Regions from separate parts of the Homo sapiens genome. Here regions 1, 3, 4, 5 and 6 are each linked to region 2. Evidence: promoter capture Hi-C in 16 types of primary human blood cells and fetal thymus (Javierre and others, 2016). All regions are on one chromosome and are shown on one strand. Each heading gives the region's core, a stretch centred on a gene start or on the middle of the fragment in contact. The rest is flanking DNA. Distances are from core to core; before and after follow the strand shown. Region 1 overlaps TMEM245 (transmembrane protein 245). Region 2 holds the start of HNRNPK (heterogeneous nuclear ribonucleoprotein K). Region 3 has its middle 4.8 kb from the start of TMEM245. Region 4 overlaps AKNA (AT-hook transcription factor). Region 5 holds the start of INIP (INTS3 and NABP interacting protein). Region 6 holds the start of FKBP15 (FKBP prolyl isomerase family member 15).

The links. Contacts are between HindIII fragments. The CHiCAGO score rates a contact against its expected background, and 5 or more counts as called.
Region 1: a contact is called between a fragment that was not itself captured here and the fragment with the promoter of HNRNPK in region 2, in 2 of 17 cell types (total CD4 T cells and activated CD4 T cells). The highest score is 6.1, in total CD4 T cells.
Region 3: a contact is called between a fragment that was not itself captured here and the fragment with the promoter of HNRNPK in region 2, in 1 of 17 cell types (activated CD4 T cells). The highest score is 10.2, in activated CD4 T cells.
Region 4: a contact is called between a fragment that was not itself captured here and the fragment with the promoter of HNRNPK in region 2, in 1 of 17 cell types (fetal thymus). The highest score is 9.9, in fetal thymus.
Region 5: a contact is called between the fragment with the promoter of INIP here and the fragment with the promoter of HNRNPK in region 2, in 2 of 17 cell types (activated CD4 T cells and fetal thymus). The highest score is 8.5, in activated CD4 T cells.
Region 6: a contact is called between the fragment with the promoter of FKBP15 here and the fragment with the promoter of HNRNPK in region 2, in 1 of 17 cell types (fetal thymus). The highest score is 5.4, in fetal thymus.

The regions. Positions count from the first base shown.
Region 1 is chr9:109,101,098-109,103,820 of GRCh38, reverse strand. The region is part of intron 3 of TMEM245 (transmembrane protein 245); the gene reads left to right. Among named protein-coding and RNA genes, the nearest start is that of TMEM245, 17 kb to the left of the region's middle. The HindIII fragment of the contact is 738 bases long and covers 955-1,692 here.
Region 2 is chr9:83,978,794-83,981,493 of GRCh38, reverse strand. HNRNPK (heterogeneous nuclear ribonucleoprotein K) reads left to right here and starts at 1,279. Exons shown (of 17, transcript NM_031263.4): 1 at 1,279-1,341. It overlaps RMI1 (RecQ mediated genome instability 1), which reads right to left and starts at 689. Exons shown (of 3, transcript NM_001358291.2): 1 at 603-689. RefSeq lists silencers at 276-355, 1,166-1,305 and enhancers at 1-508, 566-655, 676-745, 876-935, 509-1,016 and 2 more. The HindIII fragment of the contact is 2,357 bases long and covers 1-2,332 here.
Region 3 is chr9:109,123,368-109,126,067 of GRCh38, reverse strand. No RefSeq gene overlaps it. Among named protein-coding and RNA genes, the nearest start is that of TMEM245, 4.8 kb to the right of the region's middle. The HindIII fragment of the contact is 1,262 bases long and covers 725-1,986 here.
Region 4 is chr9:114,382,980-114,385,723 of GRCh38, reverse strand. The region is part of intron 1 of AKNA (AT-hook transcription factor); the gene reads left to right. Among named protein-coding and RNA genes, the nearest start is that of AKNA, 3.6 kb to the left of the region's middle. RefSeq lists enhancers at 30-79, 100-169, 2,202-2,744. The HindIII fragment of the contact is 708 bases long and covers 980-1,687 here.
Region 5 is chr9:112,716,849-112,719,548 of GRCh38, reverse strand. INIP (INTS3 and NABP interacting protein) reads left to right here and starts at 1,432. Exons shown (of 5, transcript NM_021218.3): 1 at 1,432-1,562. RefSeq lists a silencer at 1,221-1,380 and an enhancer at 1,751-1,850. The HindIII fragment of the contact is 2,113 bases long and covers 1-2,009 here.
Region 6 is chr9:113,219,860-113,222,559 of GRCh38, reverse strand. FKBP15 (FKBP prolyl isomerase family member 15) reads left to right here and starts at 1,283. Exons shown (of 28, transcript NM_015258.2): 1 at 1,283-1,369. The coding sequence starts at 1,317. SLC31A1 (solute carrier family 31 member 1) reads right to left here and starts at 1,016. Exons shown (of 5, transcript NM_001859.4): 1 at 882-1,016. RefSeq lists enhancers at 105-294, 1,135-1,244, 1,355-1,484. The HindIII fragment of the contact is 3,588 bases long and covers 1-2,047 here.

The DNA.
Region 1 (2,723 bases), core at 74-2,573, about 25 Mb before region 2:
AGCCACCACGCCCTGTCCATTTTTTTAAACTTTTTGGTACCTATTAATAACCACTTCCAGCTTCCCCGTACCCTCTCACTATCCTTCCCAGCCTCTGGTAACCATCCTTCTGCTCTCTATCTCTGAGTTCAATTGTTTTGATTTTTAGATCCCACAAATAAGTGAGAACATGAGGTGTTTGTCTTTCTGTGCCTAGTTTGTCTCACTTAGCTTATATGGCCTGCAGTTCCATCCATGTTATTGCAAATGACAGGATCTCATTCTTTTTTTTTGGCGGAATAGTACTCCATTGTGTATAAGTACCACATGTTCTTTTTCCATTTATCTGTTGATGGACATTTAGGTTTCTTCCAAATTTTGGCTATTGTGAACAGTGCTGCAACAAACATGGGAGTCAGCAGTGTTTTGTAGTTTTCTTTGTATATGTCTTAGACCTTTAATTTATTCCTTATTCTTTTTGATACTATCATGTGGAATTGTTTTCTTAATTTTCCTTTTGGATGGTTTATTGCTGCTGGGTAGAAATACAACAGATTTTTTGCTTGTTGATCTTGTGTCCTGCAGCTTTGCTGAATTTATTAGCTTCAGTAGTTTCTTTGGTATATTCTTTAGGATTCTGCATATGTAAGTTCAGTCATCTGCAATAGGGATAGTTTGACTTCTTCCTTTCTAATTTGCATGCCTGTAATTTATTTTTCTTGCCTGATTGCTCTGGTTGGAATTTCTAGTACAAAGTTGAATAGACCATGTGCTTTTAAAGATTATTTTGAGGTACCCTGGCTGTGAGTGACCTATATCTGCAAATAGTTTGTTAAAGGTAGAGGTCTCTAATGAGTTGTAAGTGGGGAGGTTGTCAGGATATAGTAGTGGTCCTCAAATCATCAGATCAGACTTCTGGTTACCCAGCCGTGTGGAAGCAGCTGTGACTGGAGAGGTAAATCTGAACACAAAGCTTCTACAGTTGACCAATACTTTACTCCTTGCTTCTTTCTGATGGCGATAATAAACTCCAAGAGCAGATTACTAGCTGCAGTATGTTTTAAAAAGAATTAATTTCTCAGATAATATGTGTGTTGCAGTAAAGTTAGGAAATACAGAGAAACAAAAGGAAGAAACTAAAAATCACTCAAAATCTCACTGTCTACAGATTATACCAAAATGTTAACTAATAGTTGTTTTGCCTTTAGGCTTTTAAAAACACAAAAAAACTAGATCACAGTGAACATTCTGTTTTGTAACCCACATTTTAAACTTAATTATGTCATGAGGAACTTTCTGTGTCAATGAATACACTTATAGAGCATTATTTTTAACATCTTCATTTTATTCTCATCATGAGGCTGTTTGTGGTACTCTGGTGTATTTGTACAGGTACCTTGTAAAAGTTTTTAAAAATTAATTTGCTTTTTATTATTTTATTTGATAAATGAGTAATATCTAACAATTGTAAGCCATATTTTTATTTGTAAATATATATTTAGAATTTTAAAATTCCTGAAACAAAGTAACCATAACTATATATCTCTCTGACAGTGGAAAATAGGGAAGATTTTATTTTATTTTATTTTATATTTTGGTGTCTAAGTTTTCTTTGTTCAGCCTGTCTTCCTGGTTATAATCTGTTAGACTCTGTGGTTATATATCTGACTAGTGGAAGTAAATTTCCTGTTTTGGCAACTGCTGTAGAAAGCTTGGCAGTTTCGACTTGTTTTTCTGGTTAGTTTTATCTCCTTTGTTTTCTTTCACCTAATGGCAAGTGACTCAGACAGTTCTGCTTACCCTTTACCTCTTATGCCAGAATGGTTTCCCCTTTTGACTGCTTTTGTCCAGGGCCAAGTAAGTAATTGTTATAAGAATATAAGTAATGCAAGTCTAAACCAAAGGTTGTGGTTGGGTTTTCTCTACGGTGTAAATTCTAGTCATCTCATGACAGCAGCCTAGAAAACTGTAAGGGTAATAAGACTTCTAAGACCAATTTTTGAGCAAGGGGAAAAAGAAGACCATGGTCGATTATGAATACTAGCCATAAACTTAGAGTAGTGATGTGCTGATATGCAAGCCAGATTGCTGTTATTTGTATTACAGGCTATGACAAGGAAGGAAATCACAGACACACAGAATAAATGTTGAGTACAGATTTGGAAATCTTGGTTTTATTTATTTTGTTTAACTTTCATTTCAACCTGTGTCAAGATAGGTGATTATTGATCTAGAATCCCTTTCTGGACTTCTAGTCTAAATAATCCTCATCATAAAATAAATCTTTTAAGTGTTTCTTTTTCCTAAATTTCTGAGTATTTTTTTCTTCTTGCCCCTAAGAACATCGTTTCTTTTTAAGAATCAGAACTCAAACCATCTGGTGTGTAATGGGACAGCCCTTCTCTTGTACTTACAGTCAGTTTCCTGCTGTAGATGTCACTGTAATATAGGTAGGTACAGGAATGCTTTAGTATACTGCCACAACAGTGTGTGCATCGGCTCTTTCCTTGTCATTTCCAGTGTCCCGTTGTATCACTTGCTCTTGTTTTCCAGTCACTTGTGTGGGTATCTTTCTCTATGTCTTCTGAGCTTTGAAGGTTTTGTGCTGTGGTTCACTAGACTCACAGAATTAGTCCTGGATTTCATCAGAATTCAAAGCCTGAGTTTGGTTCCTAGACCCAGAGTACTCTTCTATTTATTTATTATTCTTATTTTATTTTGTTTTTAGAGACTAAGACTCGCTC
Region 2 (2,700 bases), core at 30-2,529:
AACCGAATACAATGCAAGTGTGCGCTGAACCCGCTAGAACAGGAGCACGTTTGAGGGCAAGGGTTTTTGTCTGTTTTCATCACTGCCACAAGGCAGGCGCTTTGAATGGAACGTGGAGGTCTGCAACGTATTCAGCGATACGCATTCATTTTAGGAGACAAGGGCAATACATATTGCCTAAAAATTTTATCGGAATAAACTACAGCGACGACACTACAAAATACTTCCATCTCAGGTCCCATTACCCAAGAGGAAAGTCTCAGAACCGAGAGCCCTGTGAAACCGCCTGTGCCCTCTCGGCGAGAAGTTCTCCAGTACTCCCAGGCTCGCCCCGCGTTTCCCCGGCTCCCGCCCCGGCGCAAGGCAGGCCGAGAACCGCCAGCTGCGCCCCCGGGCCCGGCCTTGACTGACGGGCGCCCCGGACCATTACAAACAACGGGTTTCCGAAGCGTGGGCCCGGCCCAGCGGACGCAGACGGCCCGCACTTACCGCGCCGCAGCTCGTCCCACAGCCCACAGACCACAGCCCGGGGCGGGGTAAGGGGCTTCGGGCACGAGTGTGGGCTGTGAAAACACGGGCATAAGTCTGGGCCGAGCACCGACCTGGGCGTCCCGCATTTTCCTCGCGCAACATCGGTCCCTGGGCAGCGCAACTGTAAGGACAGGAACCGCCGCGGCGCGCTCCCAGTTCCTTTTTTACCTCTTCCCGCCCGATTTGCCGCGCGCTCGCGCCCCTCCTCCAACCCCAAAGGACTCCTTCGGGGCTGGAAAACGCCCCTTCCCCGCCCCCTCCCTGTGCGCGTGAACTAGGCAGTTGTTAGATCTCGCGAGAGGTTCGCCCCCTAGCCGCCCCTCCCCCCAGCTAGTGAGTGCGCGAACGAGAAAGGAGGAGGGCGCTCCAGGCGACAGCACTGCAGACGCCATTATCCTCTGTTTCTCTGCTGCACCGACCTCGACGTCTTGCCTGTGTCCCACTTGTTCGCGGCCTATAGGTAATTGGAGTTATTGGAGCTTGGGTATTGCTGATTCGGGTAAGGGTTGGGGCTCCCTGAAAGGCTGCGTTTACTTTTCCCAAGCCCGGGTTTTCTCGAGCCCTTAGTGGCCTCCCAGCCCGAAGGGAGGCGCTGGCGGGAGGCGGGGTTGTCGCCTCCTCCGTCGCCTTGATTGACGTGGCCTCGGGCCAATCGCTTCGCCCTCGCACCATCGCTGAAGCCCTGGCAGCCAATAGGGCGCGACGGCGGGGAGGACGCGAGAAGGCGGGGGAGGGGAGCCTGCGCTCGTTTTCTGTCTAGCTCCGACCGGCTGAGGCGGCGCGGCAGCGGAGGGACGGCAGTCTCGCGCGGTGAGGAGCCGGGTTGGGGGAGCGGCTCGTGGAGGTGAGGGTCGGAGCCCAGTTTTTCCGCTTGAGGGAGGCGTCCTGGGAGCCGCTTTGGTGTTTGGCCGCTTCTCCGAGTGGGAACGTTGCCCGGTGTCCCCTCCCCCACCTCCGCCATTTCCCTGAGCGTGTATCCGCAGTCCGCGTTGTGGTCCTAGAGACTTGGGGATTCGTGAGGCATGTGCCTCTAGGATGAGCTGGAGCTATGTGGCACTGGGAACTAGGGACCTCGTGGAGGAAAGGAGGCCGGTGCGGGGAGAAGGTCGCGCCGCCGCTCTCTTTGTGTGAGCCCCGCCTCACCTTGGGTCTCCCGGCCCGGGGTCGGAGCTGGAGCGGCGGGGATGGAACGGTCAGGGCTGCCTCGATGGCTTTGTCTCGGGCAGTGGGGGGAGGATGCGGGGGATGAGACCTCGGGACCGCGTGGTGGGTGGGGGAGGGGGTCGGCGCTCGGCTCCGCCTAGTAGCACGTAGTCGCCATTACGCGGGCCGCCATTTCCTGTCGGATCCGGGTGAGGAGAGGTGCGGTGCTTCTGCTGTCGACTTTCGCTTTTTCCCGTCCTGTTACCCGGCTGTTTTTGATCTCGGTGCCGGGAGGCGGGGAGGGGAGGGCGCGTTGGCGCTCGGCCAGTGGAGCACATACTTAGCGGATTTTTGAGGCCTGGGGACTAGTGACTGCAGGACCCGAAGGGTGAACGGCAAGCGGCAACGTTATTCTTACAGATAAGCCCTGCTGTTTTTGCTTAAACTTTCTTATCCAACTCTTCTCCCACCACACCTCAGAAATTGCGTGCTGGGCCGGAAGGATGTCGTTTCAGTTGTCGTTAGGAGAGCAATAAGTCGACCAACGGTATGGGAGAATGGGAGGCATAAATGTGCCTCGCTTGTTGGCTCTTTGCTGTCTAGCCAACCTTCTAGTAGAGGCCGCTTGTCAACTCCTAGTCCCGACAAGAGGGAAGCTTAAAAAGGCTGTTTGTAGTCCTATCGACCGTTTTGGCACGTAGACACTTTAGTTTTCGTGTTACAGGCATGATTGTTGTGTTGTACTCCCTTAAGCCTAATTTAAAATAATCCGCTAGTGACTGTTAGTTTTCAAGGGCTCCATTTGTTTCGCTGATTAATAATAGACTGGTATTGTGGTAGTTTGGGTCTGGTCCTATATTAGATTTTTGGATTTATCCCTCCGGTAGATTGTTCTGGTTGTTGGATGTGTTCGCAATTGCCGTTGTATTTGTAAACTTTAGAGATGTCACATAAGATCGCTTCAAGCATGAGTCGAAAGAAATAGGAAAGCAATTGGAAGTTTTAATATAAAATTAGTTTTCCCAG
Region 3 (2,700 bases), core at 106-2,605, about 25 Mb before region 2:
AATTAGCCAAACGTGGTGGCATGTGCCTGTGGTTCCAGCTACTAGGGAGGTTGGGGTGGGAGGACTGCTTGAGCCTGGGAGGCGGAGGTTGCAGTGAGCTGAGATCGTGCCACTGCACTCCAGCCTGGGTGACAGAGTGACACTCTGTCTCAAAAAAAAAAAAAAAAAAGAGAAAGAATTCAGTGATAGTTCAGTGATAGATTAATAATGTTTGCCATGGACTTAGCAAAGGAAAGTAGTAATTCACATGCCATGCAATTGCCAGCCTTGGTTTATAGTAATTGTAATAAAAGACCTTGTTATAACTATTCCAGTAGTCACTGTTTGAATTTCTATTGTAAAGTAACCATCATAGCTGGGTTCAGTTCATGGCAGCTAAGTGCTGTGTATAAAGCAGCCCAAGGGAAGGTAAGTAATGACTACTCTGTGGCCAAGTACCATATTAGTTATTTACATAAACTAGTTCTAGTCCTCACAACAGCTCTGCAATGTAGATTTCTTATCTCTCTTGTACAAATGAGGAAACATTCTCAGTAAGTTAATTTATCCAAGGGTATACAGCAAGAAAGCAGTAGAGCCAGGATTATAATCCAAATCTGTCTGCCTTAAAAGCTTGTGTTCTTTCCAGCACATCCTGCAGCCTCTACAATAATATGGTGTCTACTCACTTTTTTTAATTATTAAAAAAAAGTGTGCAAAGTACTGGAGCAAATGCAAAAAAGCTTATCGATGACTTTTGATCCAATGGGGAATTCAGATATTTGTGAAAATGATTACAATATAATGTGGTTGGTACTTGAGAAGAGATAGCTGTAAGTGCTACACAGTAAAGGTAGCTGCTAAGTTTCCCTGGATCAGGAAAATTCCACAAAGGAGATGATTTTGAGCTGAGGCTTGAAAGATGAATGGGAATTATCCAGATAGGCAAGAGGAGAGTTATATATCTGGAAGGCTGGTCCTATGAAGATAGAAGAGATGTCCAATGTATGGTTGTTGGTCTAAGGAGCTCAATGTGCTCTTGGCAGTTGTTGCACATCTGTACGGGATGCCAAATGTAAATAGTGCCCCCAAATGTGAATTGTATCCCTGGAATTGCGCAAAGTGGTGGCCCTGGACCATGGAGAGATACCACAATGTCCTGGGTAGAGCCTTGCTCTGTCGCCCAGGCTGGAGTGCAGTGGTGTGATCTCAGCTCACTGCAACCTCTATCTCCCAGGATCAAGCGATTCTCCTGCCTCAGCTTCCTGAGTACCTGGGATTACAGGCGCCCACTACCATGCCTGGCTAATTTTTGTATTTTTAGTAGAGATGGGGCTTCACCATGTTGGCCAGGCTGGTCTTGAACTCCTGACTTCAGGTGATCCGCCTGCCTTGGCCTCCCAAAGTGCTGGGATTACAGGTGTGAGCCACCGCGCCTGGCCTCTGGGTGTTTAATATATGTTATTCTCCAATTTAATCTTTACTGCCACCTTATGAACAAGGATCATGCACCATTTATAGCTGAGGAAACTGAGCTCAGAGATGCTATGTAACTTGTCCAGGATTATACAGATAATAAGTGGCAGATTTGGAATCTGAATGCATGTCACCCTGATTTCATTTTCACATGATCACTTCTTCTGCATTGTACATACTACCTTACACACAACGCACATACCACATTGTAAGCACTGGACTTTGTACAAAGCAGATACTCAGCACACCTTAGTAAATGTTTGTGGATACACTTGGAGAGCTCTAAAACAGACACAATGCTGGAGAATCGTCTCCCTGCCTGTGTTTGTAATATCTCTGGTGGATGTTATCTTGATACCTTGGGAGTATCAGTTGTTTAAGAGATACCCCTTATCTTTTCTAGGACAAAAGTAAGAGTTACCCCAAGAGTCACTGTCAGATTCTCACCATGTCAGAGACACTGTGCTGCTGCTTTTATACATACTTTCTTATTTCACCTTCACAGCAACCATTTTTATAAATCAGGAAGCTTTCTGTTTCAAGTAATAGAAGCCTAACCAAAACTGGCTTAAATGATTACAAAATTCATTCATTCATGCAACTGGAAAGCAAGAGGCAGTGTGGTCTCCAGGGTCAGCTTGATCCACGACTCTGAATGTCTTTCACTTCTACTGTATCCTGCGTGCCGATGGAGGCTGTTTGTCCCTGAGGTTGTTGGAGTGAGTTGTCATGTTAAGGTCAACAGAGAGAACCCAAGTAGCCTCGTATTTTGGAGGAGACACCTAAAATCATATGACCTTGAGATTTGAGTGGACAATGGGCTTCTTTCTCAAATTTAGTTTTTAGGTCCTATGTTCCAGTATTTTAATTTTTCTCTGTTCTCAACCACATGGATGCTCAGTAGAAACATCCCCAGCTTTCAATTTCATCTCTCGCAGGAAGCACAGACAGGCTTTTTTTGAAAGGACGCCACTCATTCATTCTTTTGCTCAGCAAACACTTAGCTCCTACTCAGTACGTCCTATGCTGTGCCAGGTGCTGGGCCCACGGAAATGAAGAAAGCCCAGTCCCTGCTCTCAAGGGGCTCTGTAGGGAGACAGACACAGAAACCACTAACTTTGACTGCAGTGTGGTGAGGACAATCACAGGAGGGGTGAGTGAAACCCTGTGTGAACCCAGCCTTGTGCTAGGCCACATAAAGACTAGTCTAGTTAGATTCTAGTGCTTCAGCCTTCATTTCTGTTA
Region 4 (2,744 bases), core at 84-2,583, about 30 Mb before region 2:
AAAGGCTCACTGGTTTAGGCGCCTGGGGGCAAGTGCGAAACTCTAGTCAGTCACTGCAGCTGCCTCTGACGTGCACCTTCCCCTGGTTACAGTGAGATTTCTGCCACGACTGAGTCATCCCAGAAGACAGGATGTTCCTCTTTGTGCACCCAGAGGGCTCTGTGATTGGGCAGGCTGCTCTGTGGCAGAGCTAGAAAAAAAGCCCTTTAAAAAGTCAAAAAACCGCACACCTCCCCCGGCCCCTTCCTCAGCAGAGGCTTCAGAATCAGAAAAGCAACAGCTAAATTGTAGCCTCTTCTCCACCTGCCATAACAGCAGGAGCCAGGAGGCCTAGTGAACTTCAAAGGGCAGGCCCTGCCTGAGGCCCTGGTTTAAAATGCAGATTCCTGGGCCCTATCCCAGGGCCACTGAGTCAGGCTCTCTGCAGGTTGTTTCAGGAAACTGCACGCTTAGAGGATTCTTAAGCACACTGAAGCTTAAGATCCCTGGCAGGGATTTCCAAGAAGGGTACAGGCCCTGCAGAAGGTATGAGAAGCAAGGATTAGAGCTTCTATTTAAAATATAGTTGACCAGCTGGGTGGGTGGCTCATGCTTGTAATCCCAGCACATAGGGAGGCCGAGGCAGGAGGATCATTTGAAACAAGGAGTTCAAAACCAGCCTGGGCAACGTGGCAAAACCCCATCTCGACAAAAAAAAATTTTTAAAATTAGCCAGGCATGGTGGCGCATACCTGTGGTCTTAGCTACTCAGGAGGCCGAGGTGGGAGGATCGCTTGAGCCCAGGTGGTCAAGGCTACAGTGAGCTCTGATTGCCATTGTACTCCAGCCTGGGTAACAGTGAGACCCTGTCTCAATAAAATAAAATACAGTTGATCCTTGAATAATACAGGGGTTAGGAGTGCCTCATGCAGTCAAAAATCTGCTTATAACTTTTAACTCCCCCAAAACTTTATCAATAGCCTGCTATTGACTGGAAGCTTTGCTGATAACATAAACAGTTGGTTAATGCATATTTTCTGTCTTATATGTATTATGTACTGTTTTCTTACAATAAAGTAAGCCAGAGAAAAGAAAATGTTATTAAGGAAATCATAAGGAAGAGAAAATCTACTTACTTTCATTAAGTGGAAGTGGATCATCATAAAGGCCTACATCCTTGTCATCTTCACATTGAGGAGGAGGAGTTAAGGGGGAGATTGATCTACTGTCTTAGGGGTGGCAGAGGCAGAAGAAAATTCACATATAGGTAGACCTGTGTGGTTCAAACTGTCATTAAGGGTCACCTGTATATATTTTCTTTTTCCTTTTTATTTTTAGTAGAGACAGGCTTTTGCCACGTTGCCCAAGCTGGTCTCAAACTCCTGAGCTCAAGTGATCTGCCCACCTCGGCCTCCCAAAGTGCTGGGATTGCAGGTGTGAGCCGCTGTACCTGGCCCATTTTCGATTGCATCTTTTTAGAAGATCACTTTTGAAAATACTCTTTCCAATACATGTAATATATTAGCGTGATGTGTTCGAGCAAATATATTTTTACTGATGGATTGTGTGATTAAAAAAATATTGGGGTACCACTAGGCCAGAATTGACAGTTGCAAATCTTGCTGTGGCAGGAAGTAGCTGGGTGATCTTAGCCAAATTCTACCCTCATGTTTGTAGGAGGGCAGATTGAGAATTTAAAAGTAAAGCTTCAACCCAGGCTGGCGCCGAGTGGGCTCTTCACATGTGGTAGGGACTGTGGGGCTGGAGGACAATACACAGGGTGATCTGGAGGAAATTGTAGGGCTCTGCATTTGGGGGTAGAGAGGAAGACTGGGCGGGGACAGAGGATAGAAGCCCCGAACACCCATCCACAGAGCAGGAGTCGCAGCCAAGGAGGGAAGAATGGTATTCCCTGCACCTCCCTCCTCCAGCCCTTGAGAAGTCAGCCTTTCCCGGGCTGCACTGTTCCCTGGGGAACTTTGTGTCCAAAAATAGTTGCCTGCTGACTTTTCTCAGCCACACAAATCAAGCAGGATCCAAGTGTTCATGAGGATAAAGGGACAAACACAGACCTTCTGTCCTGGGAGGCCTGGAGTCATACTGCCTTCAACACAGCATGCAGGGGAGAAAGCCCAGACTGTGGGCCAGGAGGCTGACTTTCACCCCTGCCTTGTCCTGACCCCTGTGTGGCTTTAGGCAAGGCCTCTCCCCTCTCTGGATCCCAGTTTCCCCATCTGTGGAAGAAGGCCTTTGTGTGAGCTGCTCTGGGGGCCGCTGCACTGATGGGCTGCAGTTCTCTGAACCCTCCATGGCAGGGAGCTCCCTGGGGGACCGTGCCCACTCTGGGTCAGCTTTGCACTTCCTGGGCCTGGCTCAGTGCTGGCATAGAGGAAGCGCTTAGGGAAATAGCAGGAGCGTCAGAAGGAAGAGGCAAAAGGAGATGAGAGGGAGAAGGAAAGAGGGAAAGAAGGAGAGGGTTGAGGGAAGGCAGCGGAGGAGCCCTTCTCTGGCTACCCTGTTCCTGCAGCAGCCGCCTGACGGGTCCCCCGTGTGGCCAGCCTCCCTGGTTCATTCTCCCAGAGCAGCCCAAGGGGAACTTTTAAACCACACCTCTGATGGGCTTTCCCTGTGTTCAATACCCCAGCCATCGGCGGCGAAACCACTCCCAGGTCCAGGAAAGCCCCTGGTAGGCTTGCTCCCCGCCCCCAGCTCGCCTCACTCCTCACTCGGAAGGCGTTTTCTTTAAATTGAGGTGAAATTCACAT
Region 5 (2,700 bases), core at 183-2,682, about 29 Mb before region 2:
ATATAGATCTCAGTCATCTTTTTAGTCATACTAGAACTCACCAAGTCCTCTTAACTGAAAGGACTCCTGGCCTACCATCAAAATGCTCATGTGTTAGGCTTTATATCTGGATTAAAGTCAAGTCAGCAAGAACTGGTCTCAGAGGAATTCATTCCTCCAGAGCAGAGGCAATGTGTGAGATTTAAGAACTCAGGCCTTAGCATCTGGCAGATCTTTAAATTTGAATCTTAGCTCGCTACTTGACATAGAGCAAGAAACATGAGTCTCAAATATAAATCAGGGAACAGCAGGACCAGAGCTGATGCACAGGAAGCACCTCGCATTGTAGAAGGCACTCAATAGCTGCTTGGTATAGAGTAAATACATGCTTGGTTTTCAGTAAATAAATACTTGATATTGAAACGATTATTTCAGTCATTGATCCATGCACAAGAAAATTGTGCATCATAAACATTTTACTCTTGAGCAAACATCAATTATTAAAAACATATGTTCAAATTCATTATCCATTCTATTTAATTAAATGCTTGAGGCGCTTGGGGAGCTTACATTTGTGATTTAAGTCTGTGCGTTTTTCAAATGTATCTTTCGGAAGAGATTAAGACACTGCAATTTTAAGCAGGGCAGGTGGCTCACGCCTGTAATCCCAGCACTTTGGGAGGCTGAGGTGGGCAGATCCCTTGAGGCCAGGAGTTCAAGACCAGCCTGGGCAACAAAGCGAGACACTGTCACCATAAAAAATATTTTTTTAAATTAAAAAGAGTGCAATTTGAACACATGTCAATATACGATTACCTTTTAATTCAAATGTGTAGCTATCTACTGTGCTGGAATCAGGTGGGCAGCAGGTGATCCCACTAGTGGCAACTTGGTGTTCTGCGATGTGGCACATCCACTTCTTAAATGCAGATTATTGCACTGTAATAAAAATCCTCCATATTCAGTGCTTTCATTGTGTATAATTATGTAAACTGTAGACAAAAAATATTCCTGAATTTGTGTGTGTGTGTGTGTGTGTGTGTGTGTGTGTGCGGATGCGCAATCCGAGATGGTTGTTAAAGCTCGAAAGCGAGTTTAGCTTCTAGAGTCGCCCCTCCTCCGAGGCCCAGCCGAGGTGGACTCGCACCGTCGCAAGACCGGCCAGGCGGTGGCAATGAATAAAAAGCCAGTCTTGGTGCTAGGGACCCAGGTGTTCTCCGTCCCGCCCCTGCCTGGCAGCCCCGCCCCTCCCCCGCCCCGGGCCACGCCCCACCCTGGCCCAGCCCCCAAAAGTACCGTTTGCATCTCCCGTGAGCCTCTTCGACTGTCACTCTTTGGAAAAAAAAGTGACGTCTGCACTGAGGTGGCCGCTAAAGTGCGAATCACGACGGGCGGTGGCCGTTGGGTCCCGGCGGGAGGCGGGGTTTCCGCTCCCTGGGGCGCACGTCAGTCAGGAGGCGGAAGCGCAGCGGGGGCGGGAAGGTTGTAGTGCCGCGAGTTGAGCTCCTCTTGCCTAAGTGGTCGCGCCCCCTTTAAGAGCAGCGATTGTAAGGAGAGGCGGTCCCGGTGTCCTCGGGTCCCAGGTAAGTACGACAGTCTGGAGGCACCGGGCAATAGAAAAGTGTGGCTCCGGTGCTAACCTGTCGCCGCCGTCTTTGTTGCTACAGGCAGCGACCTCCCTTCCGACCTTGCCACCTAACATTTCTGGCTCCTACTTGCTTCCTTCGTCTCGTTCACAGCCCGGGCCCAGCCGGCTCTGCACATCCGTAGGCAGGGACCTTTCTGGCACGCCAGTCTACCCTGTCACAAGATGGCCCTGTTGTCCTCCAGTCCTAACCCCGCATTGCTCGCTCTGTGTTTCAGCCGCTGGAGACACCTAACGATTCATTTACTAAAAACCGGTGTCTGTTTTCTATCCCTTGTGTCTTTCCCGGGCTCCCTAGACTAAGGCATCACTCTTTGCTGCCAATGAAATCAATTCTTTGCCTCCGGCACTGTGCCCACCTTTTAAAGAGCGGGTTTGTTAAGCTTTTTTTTTTTTTAATTAATAGTATGGTTGCTTGAATAAGACTTTATTTTCCCTTCTGAAAGCAGGATTAGGGTCTTGCTCATCTTGGATCTCCCCAGGATTTAGTACGAAAGCACGAAGTTTGGAAACCAGCAGCCCAAATAATTCCTACTAGCTCTATGACCCTGGGTACGGTTTCCTCATCTATAAAATGGTGATAAATAAATAAAGGAACTAATTTCGAGCATGTTACACAGTGTATGGTGCAGAGCAGATACAGTACTCCTTTACCTTTTTTAGCTTTCAGTGTACACAGTAGTTTTTGGGTATGTGTTTTAGACGAATGCAGAGACACCATAGATGAATGATTTTTCTTCCTAGCACCATGATTATATTGACTCTATCAATTGGTTGATATATTTGGTAAATACAACCTAATGACGTTTATTAAAGACAGTAATGCTAAATGGTATGAACATCTGCAAGAATAAACAATGCCGTATTTAATTAAATGCTTGAGGCACTAGCAGAGTTTACATTTGTTTCAGTCTGTGTACATTTCAAATGTATCTTTCTTTCTTTTCTTTTTTTTTTTTTTTGAGACCGAGTCTCGCTGTCTCGCTCTGTGGCCCAAACTGGAGTGCAGTGGCGCGATCTCGGCTCACTGCAACCTCCGCCACCCGGGTTCAAGTGATTCTCCCGTCTCGCCCTCC
Region 6 (2,700 bases), core at 34-2,533, about 29 Mb before region 2:
GGGAAGCCCAAGAACTCCAGTGAGTCTGTGGACGCTACGCTGGGACACTATCTCCTTAGCCACACCTTGTCTAAGCCAGGACTACCCCAGGATTGTTTCGAGAATGATACCAGGTTAACCAAAGAAATACTTATGTAAGATACAGATAGGGTGGAAACTGGAGGCAGAGGAGTCCGCCACAATTGATGTTGATTTAGGGCTGTCGCAGGAAGACCCAGGGAAACCCACGCCAAAGTTGGGGTGGGGATGTGTCTGCCTCCAAAGTATCCTCCTTTCCATCACCCACCGCCAGAATATCTTAGCTCTTCTGCACCTCATCCGCGTAGAATACAGGTGGACTCTAGAAAGGGGACTTTCCTCGAGGTGTATGCTACAGTCTTTCAATAGTCACTCTGTAAGGGCACACAGTGCTTAAGGGCTGATAAGGTTCTTGTTCACCCACTAGCTCACTATGTCCTGAATCAAAGGACGAGGAATCCAGTCTCAGTCTGCCCTTTACTCTTTGTGACCTCGGACTAGTCACCCGGGTGCTTAGTTCCTTCGTCTCCCTATCTGTAAATTCTGAGATTACGAGGAGGCCGGGATTGAAATCCATGGCCTCTGAGCTCTAAAATCTTCTGGACCAGCAGGCACATGGAAGAACTGGACAAATGGCCGGTTGCATACACGGGGAAACTGAGGCACCGAGCACCCCGGCCCAAGGTCACTCTGGCTATGCCACTGCAGGGGCCGGGCCGAAGCCCCAGTCTTTAACCCTCCAGTCCCGAGCTCTTTCTCCTTCCGCGGAGCTGAGGAAAGCGGCGAGGAAGGTCCTTGTCCCGCTGGGAAAAGGACGGTACCCATGCACAGGGGTGCGAAAGAGGGGCCGAGAGAAGCCTTACCTTTCCAGGTCAAGTCCAGCCACTAGCACCTCTCTCTCCGAATCTTAACCCGTCACCCCCTCACGACTCTTCGAACGGCCCCTCCACTTCTACCCGGCTCGACGTGTCCACCACCGCCACCGAGGCCGAGGATTTCCCGCCCCCTCCCGCCCCCTAGCATTACCGACCAATCCCTGCAAGGGGCTGTGAAGCTCCGCCCCGCTGCGGGCTGGAGAGGCCTGACGTCACTCGGCGCTCGTGCCCGCGCGAGCCTCTCATTTGCCTTTGCCCCACCTTCTCCAGAGCCCAGTCTACTTTCGGTCCAGAGACCGTGCTGGAGTTCGCCCTGCCGGAAAGCAGCACGCCGCCGCGGCATTTTACGACGTCGGCGGTGACAGGCCCTGGGACTCTGGGAATACCCAGCTTCCTCCCCGCAACCCGGTGAAAGCCAACGCAATGTTCGGTGCGGGGGACGAGGACGACACCGATTTCCTCTCGCCGAGCGGCGGGTGAGTGACTGAGAAGTATGCGCTGGAGGGCGTGGCTGAGAGATACCGGCGGATTGTTGGAGGGGGGTCGATCTCTTCTCAGGCCTTTTCCCAACTTCCGGGGGGAGACCCTTGCCACATTCCGGTGCTCTACACCTCTCAGAATCTGGGCAGAACTTGCAACTGTGCTGACCCTGCCGATCTGAGGTTCGGGACCCGGCATCTCTCTTGGCGGGAAGATAGCCCTGGGTTTGCCTTTTGCATTCTGGGTCACAATTTCTCCGGTGAAATGGGAATGATTGCTGATGAGACTTCCTGCCTCAGAATTTTTATAGGAGTCAGCTGGGGCTGATGTGAGACTTCTTTTCTCCATGGAGAAGGCGAAGACACTTTAGAACCAGGCCTTGGTGGGTCAGCTCTAGCATTCTTCAAGGCCCAGCTCGGATGTCACGTTTTGGATGCTTTTCCTTCTGCAACCTCAGGCAGAATGAATTGCTTTCTCTTCCTTATTCCTGCAGCTAGGTGTGTTTGCCTCTATTCTTATACCCCGCACCTATTAGATTATGAGTCCTCACCGGACAGGGACTGCTTATGGTGTTCATTTCTGTCTAGCATGCAGCATGGTACCTAGCACATAGTGAGTGCTCAGGAAGTGGCTGTTGAATGAATAATAGCTGCGAAATTGCACTTTGTAAAGCTTAAAGCTTAAAACCAACGTAACAGACTTCTGTCATTCTCCAGTTTCCCCAAGCATTATATTAATATATACCAGCCTGGAATAGAAATCTTTAAAGAGAGGAAGGGTTTTGTCTCTTTTAGTAGTCAGTTTAGCCTTTTCCATTGTGTTGTGCCAGTGGACAGCTTGACTTCCTCCAAACTTGTGAGCTACCAAGCTCTGATCATTGCAGAGCTTTTCTTTGAACATATGCTTAACAAATTTTGTGCGTGCTGAAGAATGTACTGGAAAAATGACAAATGCACCACATATGCCCCTTATTCTGCTAAATGCTAAGAGGTTACAAAAATGATTAAACTGCTGTGCCTGCCCTTAAGTTGCTTCCAGATCTGTTGGGCCATGTGGTTTCTATTGCAACCACAAATACTCAGTTCTGCCTTGTAGGGTGAGAGTAGTCATAGACAATACATAAACAAATGAGTTAATAGATGAATGACCATAAAATGACACTGGCCTTCTTTTGTCCTTAAGTAGGAATTTTTGATTTACACTGACTAGCTCTATATTACCTACCTTTTAGTCTTTTTCACTCTCACCACTCTGTTCCCTTCCTACCCCGTCTTTAGATGGCCTGCATTCACTTAGTTCCACTTTGAGTTCTTTCCGTTTCTCAGTT